Linked DNA regions of Homo sapiens: region 1 is linked to region 2. The links are contacts of gene promoters, found by promoter capture Hi-C in human tissues and cell types (Jung and others, 2019). All regions are on one chromosome and are shown on one strand. The core of a region is centred on a gene start or on the middle of the fragment in contact, and the rest is flanking DNA. Distances in the headings are between cores, read along the strand shown.

Evidence for each region. Contacts are between HindIII fragments. The study calls those that stand out against the background at their distance.
Region 1: a contact is called between a fragment that was not itself captured here and the fragment with the promoter of PRDM14 in region 2, in 2 of the 25 tissues and cell types used here (bladder and dorsolateral prefrontal cortex).

Annotation. Positions count from the first base shown.
Region 1 is chr8:69,966,094-69,971,681 of GRCh38, reverse strand. No RefSeq gene overlaps it. Among named protein-coding and RNA genes, the nearest start is that of PRDM14, 100 kb to the left of the region's middle. The HindIII fragment of the contact is 6,629 bases long and covers 1-5,033 here.
Region 2 is chr8:70,067,487-70,073,356 of GRCh38, reverse strand. It overlaps PRDM14 (PR/SET domain 14), which reads left to right and starts at 2,105. Exons shown (of 8, transcript NM_024504.4): 1 at 2,105-2,207; 2 at 3,473-4,196; 3 at 4,825-4,878; 4 at 4,970-5,127. The coding sequence starts at 3,497. RefSeq lists enhancers at 1,152-1,881, 1,882-2,611. The HindIII fragment of the contact is 14,761 bases long and covers 1-5,870 here.

The DNA of each region.
Region 1 (5,588 bases), core at 470-2,969, 100 kb after region 2:
CTGGAGTGCAGTGGCGGGATCATGACTGACTGAGGTCTTGACCTCCTGGCTCAAGTGATCCTCCCACCTCAGCCTCCCAAGTAGCTAGGACTACAGGTGCTTGCCACCACGCCTCGCTAATTAAAAACAAAATTTTTGGCCAGGAGTGGTGGCTCATGCCTGTAATCCCAACACTTTGGGAGGCTGAGGCAGGTGGATCACAAGGTCAGGAGTTCGAGACCAGCCTGGCCAACACAGTGAAACCCCATCTCTACTAAAAAACCAAAAATTAGCTGGGCATGGTGGTGCGTGCCTGTAGGCCCAGATACTTGGGAGGCTGAGGTTGAGCCTGGGAGGCGGAGGTTGCGGTGAGCCGAGATCGTGCCACTGCACTCCAGCCTGGTGACAGCAGAGGGAGACTCTGTCTATTAAAAAAACAAAAATAAAAACAAAAACAAAAACAAAACTTTATTGTAGGCCAGGTGCAGTGGCTCTGTAATCCCTGCACTTTGGGAGTCCAATTGCTGGAGGCCAGGAGCTCAAGACCAACCTAGGCAACATCACAGGACTTCACCTCTAAAAAATTAGAAATTAAAGAAATTAGTTGGGCCGGGCAGGGTGACTCATGCCTGTAATCTCAGCACTTTGGGAGGCCAAGGCGGGCTGATCATGAGGTCGGGAGATTGAGACCATCCTGGCTAACACGGTGAAACCCCGTCTCTACTAAAAATACAAAAAATTAGCTGGGCATGGTGGCGGGCGCCTGTAGTCCCAGCTACTTCAGAGGCTGAGGCAGGAGAATGGCGTGAACCTGGAAGGCAGAGGTTGCAGTGAGCCGAGATCGCGCCACTGCACTCCAGCCTGGGTGACAGAGCAAGACTCCATCTCAGAAAAAAAAAAAAAGAAATTAGTTGAGTGTGGTGGCATACGCCTATAGTACTAGCTACTTGGGAGGCTGAGGCAAGAGGATCACTTGAGCTCAGGAATTGAGGTTACTGTGAGCTATGATTGTGCCACTATACTCCAGCCTAGGCAACAGAGTGAGACCTTGTCTCTAAAAACTAATAATAATAATTAATAATAATACTAAATACTTTATTGGTAAAAAATGCTAATGGTCATCTGAGCCTTCAGCAAGTCATAGTCTTTTTTTTCTTCTTCTTTTTTTTTTTCGTGAGACAGAGTTTTGCTCTTGTTGCCCAGGCTGGAGTGCAATGGCATGATCTCGGCTCACTGCACCCTCCACCTCCTGGGTTCAAGCAATTCTCCTGCCTCAGCCTCCTGAGTAGCTGGGATTACAGGCATGTGCCACCAAGCCTAGCTAATTTTTTGTATTTTTAGTAGAGACGGGTTTCTCCATGTTGGTTAGGCTGGTCTTGAACTCCCAACCTCAGGGGATCCACCTGCCTTGGCCTCCCAAAGTGCTGAGACTACAGGCGTGAGCCACCGCACCTGGCCCAGCAAGTCATAGTCTTCGTGCTGGTGAAGAGTCTTGCCTTGCCTTGATGTGGATGGCTGCTGACTGATCAGGGTGGTGGTTGCTAAAGGTTGGGGTGGCCATGGCAGTGTCTTAAAATAAGACAACAATGAAGTTTGCCCATTGATGGATTCTTCCTTTCATGAAAGATTTCTCTGTAACATGCAATGCTATTTGATAGCATTTTACCCACAGTAGAATTTCTTTCAAAATTGGAGTTGATCCTCTCAAGCCCTGCCCCTGCCTTATCAAACTAAGTTTATGTAATATTTTAAATCCTTTATGTTGTTTCAACAATGTTCATAGCATCTTCACCAGGAGCTGATTTCATCTCATGAAACCCCTTTCTTTGCTCATCCTTAAGAAGCAACCCCTCACTTGTTCAAGTTTCATCGTGAGATTGCAGCAGTTCAGTCATGTCTTCAGGGTTCATTTGTAATTCTCATTCTCTTGCTATTTCCACCACACCTGTGATGACTTCCTCCATTGAACTCTTAACCCCTCAAAATCATCCATGGGGGTTGGAATCAACTTCTTCCAAACTTCTGTTAATATTCATATTTTGACCTCTTCCCATGAATCATGAATGTTCTTAATGGCATCTAGAATGGTGAATCCTTCCTAGGAGGTTTTTAGTGTACTTTGCCCAGATCCATCATAGGAATACCTATCTGTGGCAGCTATGGCCTTAAGATGTATTTCTTTTTCTTTTTCTTTCTTTCTTTTTTTTTTTTTTTTGAGATGAATTCTCACTCTGCCACCCAGGCTGGAGTGCAGTGGCACAATCTCGGCTCACTGCAATCTCTACCTCCTGGTTCAAGTGATTCCTGTGCCTCAGCCTCTTGAGTATCTAAGATTACAGGCATGCACCACCATGCCCAGCTAATTTTTGTATTTTTAGTAGAGATAGGATTTCACCATGTTGGTCAGGCTGGTCTCAAACTCCTAACTGCAGATGATCCACCCACCTTGGCCTCCCAAAGTGCTGGGATTACAGGCATGAGCCACCATGTCCGGCCAGTGCCTGACCTTCTTAAAATGTATTTCTTAAAAAACATGACTTGAAAGTTGAAATTACTCCTTGATCTGTGGGCTGCAGAATGGGTGCTGTGGTAGCAGCATGAAAACAGCATTCATCTCCTTGTACATCTCCATCAGAACTCTTGGGTGACCAGGTCCCATTGTCAATGAACAGTAATATTTTGAAAGGAATCTTTTTTTTCTGAGCAGTAGGTCTCAACAATGGGCTTAAAATATTCAGTAAACCATACTGTTAACAGATGTGCTGTCATATAGGCTTTGCTGTTCATTTCTAGAGCACAAGCTTAGTAGATTTAGCATAATTCTTAAAGGCCCTAGGATTTAAAAATGGTAAATGAGCTTTGGCTTCACCTTAAAGTCACCAGTGGCATTAGCCCCTAACAAGAGAGCCAGACTGTCCTTTGAAGCTTTGAAGCAAGGCATTGACTTCTCCCCTTTAGCTATGAAAGTCCTAGAAAGCATCTTCTTCCAGTAGAAGGCTGTTTCACCTACCTTGAAAATCTCTTGTTTAGTGTGTTGACCTTCATCAGTGATCTGAGCTAGATCTTCTGAATAACTTGCTGCAGCTTCTCCATCAATGCTTGCTGCTTCACCTTCCACTTTTATGTTATAGAGATGGCTTCTTTTGTTAAGACAACTTGTGCTTGCTTCAAACTTTTCTTCTGCAGCTTCCTCACCTCTTTCAGCTTTCATGGAATTAAAGAGAGTTAGGGCCTTGCTCTGAATTAGGCTTTGGCTTAAGGGAATGCTGTGGCAGGTTTGATCTATGCAGACCACTCACTTTCTCCATATCAGCAATAAGGCATTTCACTTTCTTATCACTTATGTGTTCACTGGAGGAGCACTTTTAACTTCCTTCAAGAACTTTTCATTTGCATTCACAACTTGGATAACTGTTTGGCGCAAGAGGCCTAGGTTTTGGCCTGTCTCTGTTTTGGACTTGCCTTCCTCATTAAGCTTAATCATTTCTAGTTTTTGGTTTAAAGTGAGAGATGTGCAACTCTTCCTTTCACTTGAACACTTAGAGGCCATTGTAGGGTCTTTCATTGGCCTAATTTTAATATTAGTCCAATGTTAATATTAGTCCAGGGAATACAGAGGTCCCGAGGAAGGGGAGAGAGATGGGGGAAAGTTAGTTGATGGAGCAGTCAGAACAAATGCATTTCTCAATTAAGTTTACAGTCTTACACGGGGGTGGTTTATGGTGCCCCCAAACAATTACAATAGTAACATCAAAGATCACTGATCACAGTTTACTACAACAGATATAATAACAATGAAAAGTTTGAAATGTTGCAAGAATTACCAAAATGTGACACAGATATTTGAAGTGAGCATCTGCTTTTGGAAAAATGGCACCAGGGCATGGTGGCTTATGCCTGTTATCACAGTGCTTTGGGAGGCTGAGGCAGAAGGATTGCTTGAGGCCAGGAGTCCAAGACTAGTCTGGGCAACATAGTAAGACCCTGTCCCTACAATACACATATACATATATGTATATGTATTGTTTAATGTATATATGTATATTAGCCAGGAACAGTGGCTCATACCTGTAGTCCCAGCTACTGAGGCAGCAGGATCACTTGAGCCCAGGAGTTTGAGGCTGCAGTGAGCTATGATTTGTACTCCAGCATGGGCAATAGAATAAGAACCTGTCTCTGAAAAACAAAACAAAAGGGCAATGAAAAATGGTGCCAATAGACTTGCTCAATGCAGGGTTGCCAGAAACTTTCAATTTGTAAAAAACACAGTATCTGTGAAGCTCGATAAAACAAGATGTGCCTGTATTATTTATCTCCTTTATTACACAAAAAGTAGCCTGCTTAACACTCTTAGATTAGTTAGTTATTGCTGCATAGCAAATTTCCCTAAATTCAGCATCATGCAACAACAAACATTTATTACTTCTCTCAGTTTCTGAGAGTTGTGAATCCAGAAATGATTCATCTGGGTGGTTCTAGCTCAAGGTCTCACAAGAGGTTTCAGTCAAGCTATCGGCCAGGGCTGCAGTCATCTGAAAGCTTAAACATGGATAGAGGACCTACTTCCAAACAGGACTTGCTCACATGGCCATTGGCTGGAGTCCTCAGTGGCTTGACACATGGGACCATCTGCGTGTTTTCATGGCAGTGATTCAAGAGAAAGGGCAAGGAGGAAGCGGCAGTGCCTTTTATGGAGTCTCTGCAGTCACCATCACTTCTTTTCTCATTCTTTTTTTTTTTTTCTGAGTCGGAATTTTTTTTTTTTTGAGACCGAGTCTCGATCTGTCGCCCAGGCTGGAGGGCAGTGGTGCGATCTCGACTCACTGCAACCTCCGCCTCCAGGGTTCACTCCATTCTCCTGCCTCAGCCTCCCGAGTAGCTGGGACTACAGGCGCCCGCCACAACGCCCGGCTAATTTTTTGTATTTTTGGTAGAGACGGGGTTTCACCATGTTAGCCAGGATGGTCTCGATCTCCTGACCTCGTGATCCGCCCGCCTCGGCCTCCCAAAGTGCTGCGATTACAGGCGTGAGCCACCGCTCCCGGCCCTGAGACGGAGTTTTGCTCTTGTTGCCCAGGCTGGAGTGCAATGGCGCGATCTCGGCTCACTGCAACCTCCGCCTCCCAGGTTCAAGCAATTCTCCTGCCTCAGCCTCCCTAGTAGCTGGGATTACAGGCATGTGCCACCACGCCCAGCTAATTTTGTATTTTTAGTAGAGACGGGGTTTCTCCATGTTGGTCAGGCTGGTCTCCAACTCCCGACCTCAGGTGATCCACCCGCTTCGGCCTCCCAAAGTGCTGGGATTACAGGCATGAGCCACCCGGCCCGGCCACTTCTTTTCTCATTCTATTCCCGAGAAGCCAGCGTCTAAGCCCAATCTCTACTCAAAGGGAAGGGGCATTAGGCTCCACCTCTTGAAGGGAGAAGTATCAAAGAATCTGTGCACATATTTTAATACCACAACAATTATTTTGCACCTTTTTTTTTTCCTGGAAAGTCTTGGTCCTGGGGGGGAAAAAAAGATCCAATATATATCATGAAGATTTTTAGATGTCTGTACATATAAAGCTTTCCCATTCTTTTTTTATTTTTTAATTTTTTTTTTTTGA
Region 2 (5,870 bases), core at 856-3,355:
TACTATACTGATAGGGAATGATTACTAGTAGGAGCTAGGCCGTTGCAGAAACGAGTGAAGTATAATCCCATTTTTATTTTTACAAAATCCTACGTAATCCTACACAATCTAAAAGTATAGTGGGTTTTGGTTTGTTTGTTTGTTTGTTTGTTTTTAAGGAATGGGGGTAGGGAGCAAACCAAACTGTTGATCAGGATTATCTCCTAGAGTAGAAATGGGAAGCATGGATTTCAACTTTTCTTTTATCGATTTCTCCCAACTTCTTAAAACAAGCAAGTGTTATTTTAAAATAGTGTCAAATATAGTAAACTCTGGATTCTTTGCAAAACAAACCTCTAAGATAAGGTTTGATATTGCTTCCGCTAAAATAAAGCTACGACACTTCCGTGCACGAAAAAACGGCCTCTTGAGGACCTGCAACCCACAGATCACCCAGGTGCCCCCATATCATTCTTGAAATCCTACCTGTAAAGCCCAGGAGGAAGTATAGCGAATGCCAGTGGGTCTAGGAGCTCTGGGGTGAGCACGCCTCCGGAAGGAAAACGGCAACAGAATTTATTCTGCTTTTCCAAGTAAATGATCCTTCCACAGAGGCACTTGGGACAAGAGGCGACGGGTACTTTTCACGTTTTCGATCTATTGGCTAAGATCCTATCACCTCAAAACAAGGAGACGAGGAAACCCTGGGATCTTGATCCCATTTCGATTGAGAAAACAACACGCTCCTTGCGAAGCGAAACGGGGCTGGCCGCGGGCAGCGCGGAACCACGCGAAGGCGTCGGGGGCGGGCGGGCGCGGGGACCAGGGCCACCCGGTGCAGCAAAGGGGGCAAGCAGGCGGCAGGGCGCGCGGGGAGACAAGGCTGAGTGCACGCCGCCCGCGCCCTCGAAGGCTCTAGTCCCACTCCTTCCTCCCTTCTTGCAGCCCCGCCGCGCCCTGGCGAAGGCTACAGGGTCAGGTTCCCCGCACCGAGGAGCCCAGAAGCCCGGCTGCGGGCGCTCTGAAGATCCGGGACCCCGGCCTCCGTCCCCCGCCAGCTTTAGGGACTCTGGCGGCGTCTCTTAGCCGGGTAGATGTTCCTCCTTTCCCTCTCTCTTCCAAGCCGCTGCCAGGCCGGGGGTGAGGCTGCACCTCAGTCTTCAGCCCCGAAGGCCGCGCCCGGGGCGGGTCGCTCCCCATTCAGCTAAGAGGAAGCAGCGGCCGGGGGGCAGGCGAGGAACCTGTCCCGGCTCACCCGGCAAGACTGCGTTTCCCCCACCCTCGGCGCTTCTTTCTGTGAATGTGAATGGAACTAAGCGTTCCTTTCTCTCCCTCAATGGCCGGCGAGGAGAATTCAAATGCGGTCTTTGGGCGCTCGGTATGGGTCTGGACCTTGGTTTTCAGAGCCTGCGCGTCCAAGGTCGCTAGCCTTTCCCGAAGGAAGTGACAGCTGCGGCGGCGCGGGAGGCCCATCCTCGGTCGTTTAAAGCCACTTAAGGAATAAAAGCCCCCGAGAGAGCAAAACGACCACCCGAAACCTCGGAAGCGTCGGGGGTGCCGGGCCCAACGCTCCCACGTGTCACTGCCGGGGACTCGCGAGGCGAAGCTTCCCAGCGCTCAAGGCGCTCCCGCCTCGTCCCCAGGTATCAGGAACAGACACCCACCAGGTCCACCAGCGGGTCAGACGCCGCCTTCGGGCAGGCTGGGATCTTCCGAACTGGGAGCGGAGAGTAAGGGGCTCGACCCCGGGACGCGAGTCCGGCCTTCTGGACTCCGGTTCAGGGTGTGTGTGCGCGCGGAGGGGCTTATCTGGGGGCCCTGGGTAGCACACGTGTTCGGTTTTTTTCTCCCCGACTCCGCACGCCTGGAGCGGCAATACTGCCTGCCCTAGAAGGCCAGCGGCGAGTGCTCGCCACTAGGGTCCCAGGGAGGGTTTGGAAAACTGATGAGTTAAGTGAGCGACCCCAGGGGACAGAGGGCGAGTCGAGAGTCGGCCAATGGCTGCGGTGGGCGGGGAGAAGACGACGCGGGGATCTGCGTGGGCCGGGTCAATTCCCTACCCTCGACCTGTCGATGCCCCGCGGCCCCGCCCGCCCTCTTAAGCCTGGCTCAGCCCTCAGGGCCCGCCCGAAGTCTACCGAGCCCGAGTGGCCTACCGAGCCCGAGTGGCCCCGCAGCGTCCAGGAGGCGCCCGCTCCGCGGTGGCGCTCTTGGAGGTGGTGTCGGAGGTAGGCACGGGACAGGACGCGCCTGGGGCCCGGGGCGGTGGTCTTCCAGGGCCGTTGGGGAGGGCGGCAGCACTCGCTGGCGCAGTTCGTTTTGGATGGTCGTTCTGCCCTCTCGGGGGCTTTGAATCCCAAGTTGCAGATCCCTGAGGTCGGAGGAGGCTAGGAGAAGGGCGCCTTTGGAGGATCGGGAGGAGACGGGCCGCTGCCTGTGTCGTGGCTGACCTCTTCTCCTGACCCCGTGTTCTTTAATTTCTGAGTCATGACCCTGCTTGGTTTTCTTATTGGGCTCATTGATCTCAAGACCCGCCGGCCCTGAAGGGGCTTCATTCTTCAGCCTCGGTGAACTTGCTGCCTGTCTATTAAAACGCCATCCTTTCCCGGCGGTGCGGGGGCGGGAGGACTGGCAGTCGCCGAGGCTCTTCGCTCCCACCTGGCCAGGGCTCGTCCACGCGGCTCCCGAGGGGCTACCCCAGGCCCCAATAGTCCTGGTAGAATGATTGGAGTTTCCGAGGAACCCGGGGAATGTGGCGGACGCTGCCCGCGAGGGAAAAGAGGTTCAGGCGGCGCATCCTAGGGCAGCCAAAAGTGGCGCGCCCCTCCCCTGCGGGCAGTCAGGACCGCCAGGACCCGCGGGGTCACACCGCTGGGCCAGAGCAGGTCGCGGGGTCCCTGGACCTGCCCGGGGGCTCTGGGAGCGCGTCTCCATCTGCGCGGTGCGACCCAGGGTCCTCGGCTCTTCCCTCCCAGCCGAGGGCCCAGGAGCGCCTGGAGCTGTCGCTTGCTCCATTGCCCTCCGACCGCCTGCGCTCGGCTCCCGGCCCAGCCCCGAGGTTGGCAGGGCCCCGCGGCTCCCACAGACCCTACCAACGAGTTTTGTAGGACTGAGAAGAAGGAAGGAAAGGGAACTTCAATGGGTTTTGCAGGAACCGGGTTGGGGGCCGAAAGCGGAGAGCGGGTGTGGGAAGGCGGCCGGGCTTAGGGAAGGGGTGCTTGGAGAGGGAAGGGGAAGGCAACACTAACCCGGAATTTAGAGTAGGGCAGGATCCCGGCAGATTTCCGTTTGGGGCTTTTTTGTGTTTGCTTCTATTGCTGTTTTTTCGTTTTGTCTTAATTGTGGGAGCGGGCTGGCGGGATCGGACTGGGGGCGTTTATCCTGTTCCCTTGGATCTGGGGCTGGCTGGGGTGGAGGAGGCTGGTGGGGAGGCGCGGGTCGGACCCCGGGAAGCTCCCGCGCGGTGTCCTCAGCGGCGCCCGCTTTTCTGCAGAGCCGCCGAGCGTGCGGTCCCGGGATGGCTCTACCCCGGCCAAGTGAGGCCGTGCCTCAGGACAAGGTGTGCTACCCGCCGGAGAGCAGCCCGCAGAACCTGGCCGCGTACTACACGCCTTTCCCGTCCTATGGACACTACAGAAACAGCCTGGCCACCGTGGAGGAAGACTTCCAACCTTTCCGGCAGCTGGAGGCCGCAGCGTCTGCTGCCCCCGCCATGCCCCCCTTCCCCTTCCGGATGGCGCCTCCCTTGCTGAGCCCGGGTCTGGGCCTACAGAGGGAGCCTCTCTACGATCTGCCCTGGTACAGCAAGCTGCCACCGTGGTACCCAATTCCCCACGTCCCCAGGGAAGTGCCGCCCTTCCTGAGCAGCAGCCACGAGTACGCGGGTGCCAGCAGTGAAGATCTGGGCCACCAAATCATTGGTGGCGACAACGAGAGTGGCCCGTGTTGTGGACCTGACACTTTAATTCCACCGCCCCCTGCGGATGCTTCTCTGTTACCTGAGGGGCTGAGGACCTCCCAGTTATTACCTTGCTCACCCAGCAAGCAGTCAGAGGATGGTCCCAAACCCTCCAACCAAGAAGGGAAGTCCCCTGCTCGGTTCCAGTTCACGGAGGAGGACCTGCACTTCGTTCTGTACGGGGTCACTCCCAGCCTGGAGCACCCAGCCAGCCTGCACCATGCGATTTCAGGCCTCCTGGTCCCCCCAGACAGCTCTGGTAAAGGGAGTTCACACCATTTGGGAGTCGAATTGGACGGGAATGCAGGCGGGAACGGGAGTGTCCGGGAAGAGGCGCTTCCAGGTGGAGCTGAGGCTGCAGAGTGCGGGAAGGGGGAAGTACCTCCATGAGAGCCAGGGCTGTTCTAGGCTCACTTCTGAGGCCCTGCTTGCTTAACTGCATGACTAAGGTTGGTTTTAGTGAGAGCTGAGGACCAAGAGAGAAATGGTTCCTGCAGCGAACTCCCAGGTAGGTTCAGATTCTATGCTAACATGCAATGACAGCCTTCAGCAGTTCACACCTAACAGTCCCAGCTCAGCTAGCTACGCTGACCTTAGTCAGGCATTACCTCTGATCCTCAAATTCCTTGAATTTGCCTAATGGGGTTAATTACATAAACTTCCATGAGGCTGTTCTGAGTCTCAAATGAGAAATTGTATATGGAATTGTTTACAGTGAAATCGTGTATGAACAGACCATGTAAAATGAGCAGGGAAAAATAGAAACAACAAATAAATATCAAACTGGGATGATGGTTACCTTTAGGGAATTAAGGAGGGAAACACCTCATAAAAGCACTTTATAATGCATTTTTAATGAAAAATTGTTTTAACCTGCCTTTTGCTAGGATCTGATTCTCTTCCTCAAACTCTGGATAAAGACTCCCTTCAACTTCCAGAAGGTAGGCAGGACTCCTTGCATGGATTTCTTTCCCTGAACTAATGCAGAGTCAACTCTCCTCATTCTCTTTTCCTGCCTCGGCTTTCCCCTAGGTCTATGCCTCATGCAGACGGTGTTTGGTGAAGTCCCACATTTTGGTGTGTTCTGCAGTAGTTTTATCGCCAAAGGAGTCAGGTTTGGGCCCTTTCAAGGTAAAGTGGTCAATGCCAGTGAAGTGAAGACCTACGGAGACAATTCTGTGATGTGGGAGGTAAATCTGTTTCTGGTGGGTCTGCTGCTGAAAATGGGGCGGGAGACTAGTCCGGGGAAATCTTGGCCTTTGCCCTTTTGGGAGAGTCCTGGTCAGAGAGAGAGGACATCCAGGGCAGATATCTGTGGTTTGTGTTGCCTGTAAAAGGAAGGAACGGCCAGTGTTTGCTCCATGAGGATAGCACCTCTGCATGAATTCTGTGTTTTGTGGGTGCCTTAAGTCATTTTAGTCTGGAAGATTAGCAATGGAATATACATTTAAAGAATCAATATGTTGTATTATATTTATAGACAAAACTAAATGCTTTAGATATTATAGAGTGCTGAAACTATGCTAAAGAGAATAAAAACAAGTTTTAAAATTCAATATTATTCACCTATAAAATTAGTCAAGGATTAAAAAAAAAATAACCAGATACTCTTCAAGATCTAGTGATGATATATTAGGGATATGCTAGTGGGACTGCAGTTTATTACCTGCAGGAGAAAATTTGTCAGAATGTATCAGATACCTTAAAATGTTCAAAGTCCCTTGACCCTGAATTTCTACTTCTAGGAATATAGTACAGGAAAATAATCTGAAATTGAGGCTATGTGGAATATGTTAATCCTAGGGTTGTTTATAATAACAAAATGTTGGAGACAGCGAAATTGCCAGCAGCAGAGAAAGAAGTAATCTTTCTTTGTTTTTTTTTTTTTGTTTTTTTTTTCTTGAGACGGAGTTTTTGTCTGTTACCCAGGTTG